2 separate regions of the Homo sapiens genome follow, and region 2 is linked to region 1. Evidence: promoter capture Hi-C in 16 types of primary human blood cells and fetal thymus (Javierre and others, 2016). All regions are on one chromosome and are shown on one strand. Each heading gives the region's core, a stretch centred on a gene start or on the middle of the fragment in contact. The rest is flanking DNA. Distances are from core to core; before and after follow the strand shown.

What was found. Contacts are between HindIII fragments. The CHiCAGO score rates a contact against its expected background, and 5 or more counts as called.
Region 2: a contact is called between a fragment that was not itself captured here and the fragment with the promoter of CACYBP in region 1, in 2 of 17 cell types (total CD8 T cells and fetal thymus). The highest score is 6.2, in total CD8 T cells.

The regions. Positions count from the first base shown.
Region 1 is chr1:174,997,052-175,002,931 of GRCh38, forward strand. CACYBP (calcyclin binding protein) reads left to right here and starts at 2,896. Exons shown (of 6, transcript NM_014412.3): 1 at 2,896-3,144. The coding sequence starts at 3,130. It overlaps LOC105371622 (a long non-coding RNA gene), which reads right to left and starts at 2,595. Exons shown (of 2, transcript NR_188647.1): 1 at 2,544-2,595; 2 at 428-682. RefSeq lists enhancers at 2,017-2,226, 2,169-2,705, 2,257-2,766 and a silencer at 2,797-2,916. The HindIII fragment of the contact is 3,791 bases long and covers 1-3,484 here.
Region 2 is chr1:174,736,226-174,742,105 of GRCh38, forward strand. All of the region lies in intron 17 of RABGAP1L (RAB GTPase activating protein 1 like), which reads left to right. Among named protein-coding and RNA genes, the nearest start is that of RABGAP1L-AS1, 220 kb to the right of the region's middle. The HindIII fragment of the contact is 416 bases long and covers 3,114-3,529 here.

The DNA.
Region 1 (5,880 bases), core at 1,646-4,145:
TATTACCCTGTGAGACATTAACAGGTTTATATCTAACCTTGCCACCTTATACTAACATTACATTGTTAAATTGCCTATAAATACCTGGCTACTCAAATACACTCTCAGTAACTAATAAGTCGAATAAAGTATTTGTCACATGTCCATTTATATTTGCATAATATTGTCTGGAAAAGCCTCCCTTAGTGTTACTTCTGAAAGACCTAAATAGAGTGAAGAAACGATCTGTGTGATGACCTAGAGGAAGAGGATTACAGGTAGAGAGAAAGCTGGGTACAGACTTGGAGGCAAGAGCAAACCCAGTGGGTTCAATGAATAAGTAAAGTGCCAGACTGTTTAAATCAGGGAGCGGGGAAGGAAGAGTGGTGAGAGATGGGTTCTGACATGAAGCTCATAAAGGTGAGATAAGATACGTAAAACACTCAAGTTCACATTAAGGAGTTTGTACTTTATTCTAAGCCTAATAGGAAGCTGTTAGAGGTTTTTAAGCAAAGGGATATAATGATCTGAAAAGATATCTCGAGCTGCTCTGTGGAAAACTAACTCTTAAGGCACAATGGGGAAGCAGAGAAATCAGTTAGGAAGATAAATTTCAGACAAAATAATGATGACTTGGACCTGGGTGCGTAGGGTAAGAAATATCTTTTCCTTCTACCCATTTTAGGCTCACTGGCTGGGGATCCTGTAACAAAAGACAAATTAACAAGAGAAAAGCATAAATATTAATGTTAGTTTTACATAACATGGAAACTTCATAAAGAAATGAAGACCCGAATAAATAGTTAACCTTAGTGTTGTTTAGAGTAGGTTTGAAGAAGAATGGAGAATTGTGGGAAAATGTGATGGGGCTAAAAGACTGTGATCTAAGGGTAATAAACTGGGGGAAACTTAGCAAGGCCTGATGTTCATATTCGTCTCTACGTCCCTGTGTTTTCAGAGATAAAGATGTTACTTTTATTCCAGGTATAGACAGGGCAATTCTCACATGAGGGTATTACGTCCTGCTTCAGAGCAGAAAGGTGCAAGAAAGTTAGAGACATTCCTGCATATGTTCTTTCTCAAATTCCTTCAGTTCAAAGTATTCAATATGTCTAGGTGCCATATTTTTGGGTAGCATGTCCCAAACCCCGTCAGGTGGTAGAAGCAGAGGTTGTGAGAACTCGTTAAATTCGCTACATATTTTGAAGATTAAGCCAGTAAGGCTTGTTATATAAGATGTAAGGCCTGAGATAGAAGACTCAGGTATGAGTCCTTAGCCTGAGCAATTAAGAGAACGAGGTAACTGTTCACTGCATTAGGTCCATGGGATATTTGTTTTTATTTAATTATGTACTTAATAATTCCAGGCTATTGGTTGGACACTTAAAAAAATTTATACGATAAAATACACAGCTCTTAGGAGTTCATCCCATGAACTTTGACAATTCTATGTATCGGTGTAATATTTCCATTACCTGGGCAAATTCCCCTTCGCCGGGCCTTAAGCATAATCTACAGAAAAAACTACGTACATAAATATACGTTTACAACTCAATGAGATTTCTAAAGTGAACCCACCTATCTATAATCAGTGTCCAAATCAAGAAACATTACCTGAACCTCAAAAGCCCCCTGGTGGCTCTTTCATGTCATTGTCCTCCCCACTATGCTCATTAACACCATGGGCTAGTTTTTAAATGGAACCACGCAATATGAACTCTTCCATGTCTGGCTTCTTTCCCTCAACTTCATTTTTTTGTGTGAAATTCACGCATGTTGCGTTTCGGTAATTTATTTTTGTACTGTACTTCCGATTCTTTACTACAGATAATGGTCAGCCTCCATTCCGCTAACAGCTTTTTTTCCTCTCCGAGTTGCTGATTCTAATTGCTGCCTTGGACGATCTATAAAGCTGAGTGCGCGCTATGTGACCTCTCAGGGGTCGCTGCCTTGGACGATCTGTAAAGCTGAGTGCGCGCTATGTGACCTCTCAGGGGTTGTTTCCAACCGTGTTGTTGACATCTTGAGCCTGCCAAGGACTAGAATAATCTGAAAACTAGGCTTCTCTGGGGGTCTCACTGAGTGACAGGGTTAGAACCAGAAGAGAACATCGTCTCCAGAAGACATTTCACCATTTTCTTTGATGGTAAACAGGCTCACTTATACCGAATCCAAACCCAGGCGAGAACTACGGACTCTTGAAATGGTCGGTGAAAGGGGCGAAAGCACCAGGAAATCGTGCTTCAACAGTCCATGACTGAAAGGAGGGCCTGAAACTGTGGCCATAGGCGGGCCCTTTTGTTAGGGCCTTGACCTGGGCTTCCGCTACAGGGCCCGGTCACGAGGCCAACGTAGCTCCACCTCCTACGGCGGCCAGTGATGACGCCACCACGTCGGAACTGTTAGACCGCGGTGACGTCTCCACCGCGCCAAACTCACTGAAAATCAAACCGCTACCATTAGGAGCCCTCCACGCTTAACATATCCGTTCTTTCTCGTTTGAAAGTAACCAGGCTGCTCCTCCCCATTTTTCGCCTTCTTCTCGCGGAGGCTGAGAGACTAACCTTACACAACATGGCGGCCTGGTGTGTCTGGTGTCCTAGAGCGGACGAAAGCAGGTGACTCTCTAGTCAACTTCCGACTTGGACTCCGAAGATCGGTACGTTATTTCCGGGGCTGGGTTAACGCAGCGGTTCCGAGCTGCGACTGCGCAGCGTGGCCCAGCGCGGTCAAATTATAATACATAAAAGTTGTCAGGGCGGAGAGCAAGACATTACTCTTCTCGGATTGCCGGTTCGCTCGCGAGACTTGAGCGTTGCTAGGAGATTCGGCAGGCGGGCGGAGCCAGACTCGGCGGGGCGGGGAGGGGTGGGGCTAGGCTCGGCGAGGCGAGGAAGGGTGGGTGGAGCCAGGCTTGGCGGGCTGTGCGTGCTCGCGGTGGGCGGTGGCGGCGGCTGCCTCGCGAAGGTTCGAGATCCGTCGCGTGCGGGAGGCGGGCCGCGATCTTGCGCAGGGTCGGTGTGGGCGCAGGCTGCAGCGCCGCGACTCGTGCGGGTAGGCGTCTGCGCTCGGTTTGAGGGCTCGGCGCGGGGTTTCCTGTTCCTCCTTCTGCGCGGCTGCAGCTCGGGACTTCGGCCTGACCCAGCCCCCATGGCTTCAGAAGAGGTAAGTGGTCCGGCCCCATATTCCTTATGCCCCCCGGCTGGAGCTGCAGCGCCAGCCTCCCGCCCTACCGCCGTTTCCGTGGGCTGAGCCGCCCTGCGGCCACCCGGTCCCGCGCCAGTCAGTGCGCCGCCTTCCCGGGGGACACCTCACTCGCCCCTTGCTGCGCCGTCGGCTCCCCAGCGCTTCCACTCGACCTCGCACCCCACTCGCCTGCTGGGCTCGAGCGGGGGTGTGCGGCGATTATCCGTGCAGGCGGTGCGGGGAGTGGGTCTGGGAGAGCGGCCCTTTGCGCGTGTTCCTCAGGCCCTTTCTGCCCTGGTTTCCCAGCCAGTGGACAGGAAGCTTCATTCAAGCAAAGCTGGGTGCAAACATGAGTGTCGTTCTTGGTAGAGGGCGGTTGGAAGGTGAGTTCTCAGTGCTAGCACTTGAATTCTCCTAGTCAGGTTTTCTCTACACACGAGGAGCTGTGTTACTCTGGGCAAGTTGTTTAGCTTCTCTGTGTCGCAGTAGCATCCATTTCATAGGGTTGTTAAAAAATATGATTTCTAGGTGTTTAAGTCAGTGATTGGCAAACAGCAATCTGCTGTATGTGATTTTTAAAATAAATAACTTGGAAAGTTAGTTGTAATTAATAGTAAGAAAGCGAATGGCCTGTGTTAAAGCTCTGTAAACTCTGAACGTTGGAGAATTAAATTTTGTGGAGACTTAGTTTGCTCAGTTAGAAAATGGGAATGATAGTACTTGTATTGCTCATTTCCTGGCGTAAGTGGGAGGTGAAGACGGGACAGTTATTCACAGTTAAGTGTTGGGTGTGTATTAACTAGATTTGCTTTATGAAAACAAGTACTGGGGAGTCCCAAGCTTTTGTTTTGTTTTGTTTTTGTTTTTTAAACTCAAAATCTTTTCTTTAAATGAAGAAAAACTATGAGGTTTGTGTGTTCCAGTATTAATCTGGGTATCTTGTGACAAGTCTTTTAAGGTAGGTCTTGGGTACTATGTGCCCCTAGGAGATAACTTCACAGTCTTGCAGGTGGATAGCTCAGTGTTAGTCCTCTTGAAAGTAGAGATCGTTCTCAGTTTAGGCACTTAGAAATATACATTTGAGGGCACTTGATTTTTGTTTTGTTTGAGATAAAATTCAAGTTTTTAACCATTTTAAAGTGTACAATTCAGGTATTTGTTTTTTGTTTAAATATATTCACAGTGTAGTGCAGCCATCACCACTGTCTAGTTTCAGGACATTTTCATCACTCCAGAAAGAAACCATGTAGTGTGTTTTAAACAATTGCTTCCCATTCCTCCCTCAGCCCCTGACAACTACTCATCTTGTACTTTCTGTGAATTTGCCTATTGTAGGCATTTCATATAAATGGAGTCACGCTGTATGTGGCCTTTTGTTTTTTGGCTCCTTCAACTTAGCACTAACATTTTCAAGTTCATCCATGGTGTAGCGTGTATCAGTACACATGCTCTTTATGGCTAAATAATATTCTATTATATGCATGTGGCACATTGTGTTTATCCTTTCATCCGTTTATGGACATTTATTTCCACTTCTTTGTTTGAGACGGAGTCTCGCTCTGTCGCCCAGGCTGGAGTGCAATGGCGCAATCTCGGCTCACTGCAATCTCCGTCTCCCGGGTTCAAAGGATTCTCCTGCCTTAGCCTCCTGAGAAGCTGGGATTACAGGCGCGCGCCACCATGCCCGGCTAATTTTTGTATTTTTAGTAGCGACGGGGTTTCACCACGTTGGCCAGGCTGGTCTCGAACTCCTGATCTCAAGTGATCCGCCCGCCCGCCTCGGCCTCTGAAAGTGCTGGGATTACAGGTGTGAGCCATGGCGCCTGGCCTTATTTCCACTTCGTGACTAGCATAAATAATGCTGCTGCGAGTACTGTATCCAAGTTTTTTGTGTGGATGTGTTTTCAGTTCTCTGGGGTATATACCTAGGAGTGGAATTACTGGTTCATATGGTAACTTTCTGAGAAACTGTTAGACTGTTTCCAGAGTGGTTGCATCATATTCCTGTAAGAAATGTTTGAAGCTTCTGAAAGTTTCTCCACATCATTATCAACATTTGTTATTTTCTGGGGTGTTTTATTTTTCTTTTTCGGTTTATGATACCATCCTACTGGGTGTGAAGTGGCATCTTGGGAATTTGATATGCGTTTACCCAATGATGAAGATGTTGAGCATCTTTAATGTTCTTGGTGTCCATTTCTGTGTCTTTGGAGAAATGTGTGTTGAATTCCTTTGCCCATTTTTGAGGCACATTGGTGTTAATGCCTCCTAGTGAAAAATTAGGAAATAGGAAGATAAAGCTTGAATGCCTTATGGGTAGGGATAAAAGAGAAATAAAATTTTTATATACGTAAAACAAACACATGCCAAGAAGGCAAGGAAAATTACATGATAAATTAGATAGGAAACTAGGACATCTTAAAGTATTTGTGCAGAAAAAGCATCAAAGGAATCACCTTTGTTGGTTTCAAGTCTGCCAATAACAGAACTGAGGAACTGTCTCAGTTTTAAGTTTTTTCAGTGGATACTTCATAATAAAAAGAGTACTTTAGAGTCAAAACTGGCAATAAAGAGGGCTTGGGAATTCAGCCATTGGGGGAATCCCTTGCCTAATTCGAAGTACCTTTCTCATTCTGCTAGATAAAGTATTCCTATTTCAGTCAAAAAGCAAAACCTCTTGCTTAGACTTAATATATTTCATTTTACATTTCAATA
Region 2 (5,880 bases), core at 2,072-4,571, 260 kb before region 1:
CACTGGGTAAACATTCCCATTCCAAAAGGAAGAAATTGGCCAAAAGAAAAGGGTAACAGGCCCCATGCAGTTCTGAAACCCAGCAGGGCAGACATTAAACCTTAAAGCTCCTAAATAATCCTTGTTTCCATGTCCCACACCCTGGGCACACTGGTGCAAGTGGTAGGCTCCCAAGGCCTTGGGCAGCTCTGCCCCTGTGGCTTTGCAGGGTACAGCCCACATGACTGCTCTCACTAGATGGAATGCCTGTGGCTTTTCCAGGCTGAGGATTCAAGCTGCCCATGGCGCTACCATACTGTGGTCTGAAGGGAAACAGCCTCTTTCCTGCAGCTTCACTAGGCAGTGCCCTGGTGGAGGACTCTGTGTGGGGGCTCCAGCCCCACATTTTTCCTCCACACTGCCCTAGTAGAGGTTCTCTGTGCAGGCGCTGCCCCTGTGGCAGTCTTCTGCCTGGGCACTGAGGCTTTTTCATACATGTCCTGAAATCTAGGGGAAATCTGCCAAGCATCCTTCATGCTTGCATTCTGTGTACCTGCAGACTTAACATGACATGGAAGCTGCCAAGGCTTATGGCTTGCACCCTCTGGAGCAGCAGCCTGAACTGTACCTGGGCACTTTGAGCCATGACTGGAGCCAGAACAGCTGGGATGTGGGAAGCAATGTTCTGAGACTGACCAGGACAATGGGGCCCCGGGCCTGGCCCCTGAAGCCATTCTTTCTTCCTAGGCCTCTCTTCCTATGATGGGAGGGGCTGTCTCCAAGATCTCTGAAATACCTTCAAGGCCTTTTGCCCATTGTCGTGGATATTAGCACTTGGCTCCCTTTTAGTTATGCTACTCTCTTTAGCAAGTAGTTGCTCCATAGCCTGCTTGAATTCCTCTCCTGTAAATGCTTTTTCATGCTCTGCCACATGATTAGACTGCAAACTTTCCAAACTTCTTTGTTCTGCTTCCCTTTTAAATATAGGTTCCAGTTTTAAGTCATTTCCTTACTCCCATATTTGATTGTAGGTTGTTAGAAGCAGCCATACTACCTCTAGAACACTTTGCTGCTTAGAAAATTTTTCCACCAGATACCCTGTTATCATTAAGTTCAAACTTCCACAAATCCCTAGGACTCAGACACGATGCAGCCAAGTTATTTGGTAGGGAATAACAAGGGTGACCTTTGCTCCAGTTCCTAATAAATTCCTCATTTTCATCTGAGACATCCTCAGCCTGGCCTTCACTGTCCATATTTCTATCAGCATTGTGGCCACAATCACCTAACAAGTCTCTAAGAAGTTCCAAACTTTCCCACATCTTCCTTTCTTTCTCTGAGCCCTCCAAACTCTTCCAACCTCTACCTGTTACCCAATTCCAAAGCTGCTTCCCACATCTTCAGGTATTAATAGCAACCCCTCACTCCTTGGTACCAATTTTTATGTTACACCATTTTTGCACATCTGTAAAGAAACACCTGAGACTTTGTGTAATTTTCAAAGAAAGGGGTTTAATTTGGCCCATGTTTCTGCAAGCTGTACAGGCATGGCACCAACATCTGTTCAACTCCTGGTGAGAACCTCAGGAAGCTTACAATCATGGCAGAAGGTGAAGGAGAACCAGCATATCACATGGAAAGAGCGGGACCAAGAGAGAGATGGGGGATGTGCCACACACTTTTAAACAACCAGATCTTGTGTGAACTACCAGAGCCAGAATTCACTCATCACCAAGGGGAAGGTGCTAAGGCATTCATGAGGGAACCACCTCCATGATCCAGACACCTCCCACCAGGTCCCCCCTTCAATGTTGGGGATAACATTTTGACATAAGATTTGGAAGGGACAGAAATCCCCACCATGTTTGGTGGCATCATGGGCTGACATTAATACATCTCTTTAATGGGATTGGAAGTTAGGAGATGTTTCAAGGAGGAGATTACCTTGAACTGAGCTGTCCTGGTCAGTTGGCCATCTGAGAGAAAGAAATGGGGTCCCTGCCACAAGGCGCCTGGGAAATTAAATCCCAGTTAGAGAAATAGGAAGACACTCAGGAAGTAATCAGAAAGACACTTCACTGGTTATTTCCCCCCAGCAGTTTTGCTGCGATGAATTTCAGGGGTAGAAGCAGGAATGGTGGAATAAGGAATTGGAATTCAGGCCTACTTGTATAAGGCCCTCCTCAGTTGACCTATACCAGTATTTCTACATTTTTCTTATTTGACTTCTCTTACCTTGTAAAATATATAGAAATCAGTGGTTTCTAGGGTCTGCAGAGTGGGGTGGGTGGCACTAAAATACAGTAGATGTTAATACCCGTCTTAGACTTAATGAATCAGAATTATCCAGGGTGGGATCCAGGAATCTGAACTTTTAACAAATCTCTTTTGTTATTCTTAACTGGTACTCCTCAATTTACTGTTTAGGAATCTTACACATGGGGGAGGTTGAGACACTTAACTAAGCTAGTTGGTGGCAGAAATGAAACTGTGATATGGATCTTCTAACTCCTGCTCTAAAGCTTTTGATTTATAGTATAGTATTAATGAACTTCTATTGTGAACTTGCAGACCGTTTAATATTAGGTTCAATATACTATGTTTAAATGGGAATGAATTTCACAGGGCTTATAGAGCCTTTCCCCATAATTGTAAAATTTTTGCAGCAACCGCTATATTACTGTTGCTACAATTTTCTTTGCTAATTAGGTCTCTTTGCCTTGTAGCTCTCACTTTTAAATTGTTTTTGTTTTGTCATTTAGTAGATCTCAGAGCAATTAACTAAACTAATTCTTCCATCTTTTTTTAAATGGAGACATCTCCTCCTCACTATGGCAGGAAGATCTGTGATTTCTAGTATAACTGCTTGATGTGAGGACAGGGTTACTTGGGAAAGAACTTTCAGCATGAGTGATTTAATTATCTGCCTCCATTAGATAGGTACCTTTCTCTTGCTTGGCTCCTAATAAAGGAACAAGCACTCTCATCCATTTTACGGTTTAAATAAATTTTACAGTTAAATATGACTAGATATACTTTTAGTACCCAAAGTTGTGGATATTTTGTTCCATAAAAGCTAATTACTAATAGAAAATGGTTTGCTAGATAAATTACTTAACTGAAAATATACTAGAAGCTTATTTGTGCTTTCTAAAAAAGTTGATAATTATGATTCACTGGTTAGAAGTTGTAGATTTTACATATCCCTGATGTATAGATGGATAAGTGCAAATAGGAAAACTATGCTCTTAAATTATCATGATTGCTTGAAAACTTGGTAATGCTCAGTTCTCAGTCTGGTTTCATACTAGAAACTCCTGGAAGTTCTTAAAAATACAAGTGACCACATTCTACTCCTGAGAAATTTCTATTTATTTGACCTAAGATGGATCTCCTGCCTCTGTGTGTTATGAAAGCTCCCCAGGTGATTTTAATAAGCAGCCATGGTTGAGAGCCAATGGTCTAATGGAAAGAGAACTGAATTATAATCAGGAAACTTGTCATTCCAGTCTTAATTCTGTGAACTCAGGTAAATCATCTAACATATTTAAGCTTGCATTGTAAAATGGAGGTAATTAATAATGGCCTATATGCCGGATTAATATTTTTACAGTTGAATGAAACTATATACTCAAAAGTGCTTTGCAGTAAAGTGTTATACAGATGGTGGCATAGCAATTAAGATTTACTACGCAATATACTACTGTGAAGTGGTATGTTTAGTCTTTTGTACTTCTTGGCAGAAAGATGCTAGATCCCCTGTGGCAGAAAGAAACTTAGGCTCCTTAGCGATCCTCAGGGTATATTATTATGATTCTTAAAGTTCACTCTGTATTTTTATGTGTACCAGGCTGCTAGTGTCTCTAGGTGATAGGGGGAAAAGGTAGAGGAAAGGGTGGAGTTGCTCCTGCTGGTGATTTTTTAAAATTGTGAGTTCCTATAATTAGTAACATCCTTCTTACATCTTCATAGAGACATGGTTGGTAGCAGTGGAGTCGTTTATATAACTTTACAAACCCTCTCTTGTGTACTCTTTTTCAATGTTATTCTCTTAAATCACTTCTGTCTCTGCTTTCCCTAGTGTTTAAGCTTCACTAACATTTACCTATATATAAATGGATGAGGACAGAAGAGAAAGGGTCCCCAAAGATGAATACACTCATTACTGGTTTCCCAACATGATATAAACCTAGGACTTCACCCCTTGGAGGGATGAAAGTTTACTATGCATAGCATTTCCTGGTGTGTCAGTCTCGGTACAGCCTCTTGCTCAATTCATCAGCTGTTTCCAGGCAAAATTACATACCACTTCTTGAGTGTTTTAAAGCCTCCTAACTGTATATATGTGAGTTCTTTGATATATTGACTTCTTTTTCTTTGAGTCGATTCCCAGTAGTGGCATTGCTGGATCAAATGGTAATTATATTTTTATTTTTTTGAGAAATCTCCATACTGTTTTCCATAGTGGCTGTACTAGTTTACATTCCCACCAACAGTGTATATGAGTTCCCTTTTCTCCACTTTCTTGTCAACATCTGTCTTTTTTAATAATAGGGATTCTGGCTGAGGTATGCTATCTCATTGTGGTTTTGATTTGCATTTCTCTGATGATTCATGAGGTTGAACATTTTTTCATATACCTGTTGGCTGTTTGTATTTATTTTTTTGAGAAATGGCTATTCATATACTTTGCCCAAGTATGAATGGGATTATTTGTTTTTTTCCTGTTGAGTTGAGTTCCTTATCTGTTCTATATATTAGTTCCTGTTGGATAAATAATTTGCAAATATTTTATCCCATTCTGCAGGTTGTCTCTTCACTCTGTTGATTTTTTTGTTTTGTTTTTTTTTTTTTGTGTGTGGGAGCTTTTTAGTTTAATTAATTCCCAATCACTTATTTTTGGTTTTGTTGCCTGATCTTTTGAGGCCTTTGTAACAAATTCTTTGCCTAAACCAACAACCAGGAGAGGGTTCCCTAGATTTTTTCTTCTAATATTTCTATAGTATCAGGTTTTACTTTTAAGTCTTTAATCTACTTTGAGTTCATTTTTGTATATGGTGAGATAATGGTCCAGTTACATTCTTCTGCATGGCTATACAATTTTCCCAGCACCGTTTATTGAAGAGATTGTCCTTTCCCCAGTGTAAGTTTTTGTTGTTTGTTTTTGTGTTTTTTTGAGACAGAGTCTTGCCTTGTCACCCAGGCTGGAGTGCAGTGGCATGATCACTGCTCACTGTGGCCTCAACCTCATGGGCCCAGATGATCCCCCTGCCTCACCCTCCCAAGTAGCTCAGACTACAGGCATTTGCTGCCACACCTGACTGGTGTTTTATTTTTTGTAGAGATGGGGTCTCACTCTGTTGCCTAGGCTGGTTTTGAACTCCTGGGTTCAAGCAATCCTCCTGCCTCAGCCTTCCAAAGTGTTGGGATTACAGGTGTGAGCCACTGTACCCGGCCCCCAGTATAAATTCTTGTTGGCTTTGTTGAAGATCAGTTGGCTGTAACTATGTGTCTTTATTTCTGAGTTCTCTGTTTTGTTCTACTGGTCTATGTGGCTACTTTTATACCATGTTGTGGCATTTTTAAGGATTTTTTTTTTAAGTGGGGAGTTTGAGACCAGCCTGGGCAACATGGCAAAAGCCTATTTCTACAAAAAAAAAAAAAAAAAAAAAAAAAGTAGAAAAATTAGCCAGGCATGGTGGCATGCGCCTATAGACCCAGCTACTTGGGAGGCTGAGGTGGGAGGATTGCTTGAGCCTGGAAGGTTGAGGCTGTGGTGAGCCATGATAGCACTACTATGCTCCAGCCTGGGTGACAGAGCAAGACCCTGTCTCAAAAAAAAAAGAAGAAGAAGAAGAGGAAGAGGAGGGGGAGGGGGGAGGAGGAGGAAAGAAGAAGAAG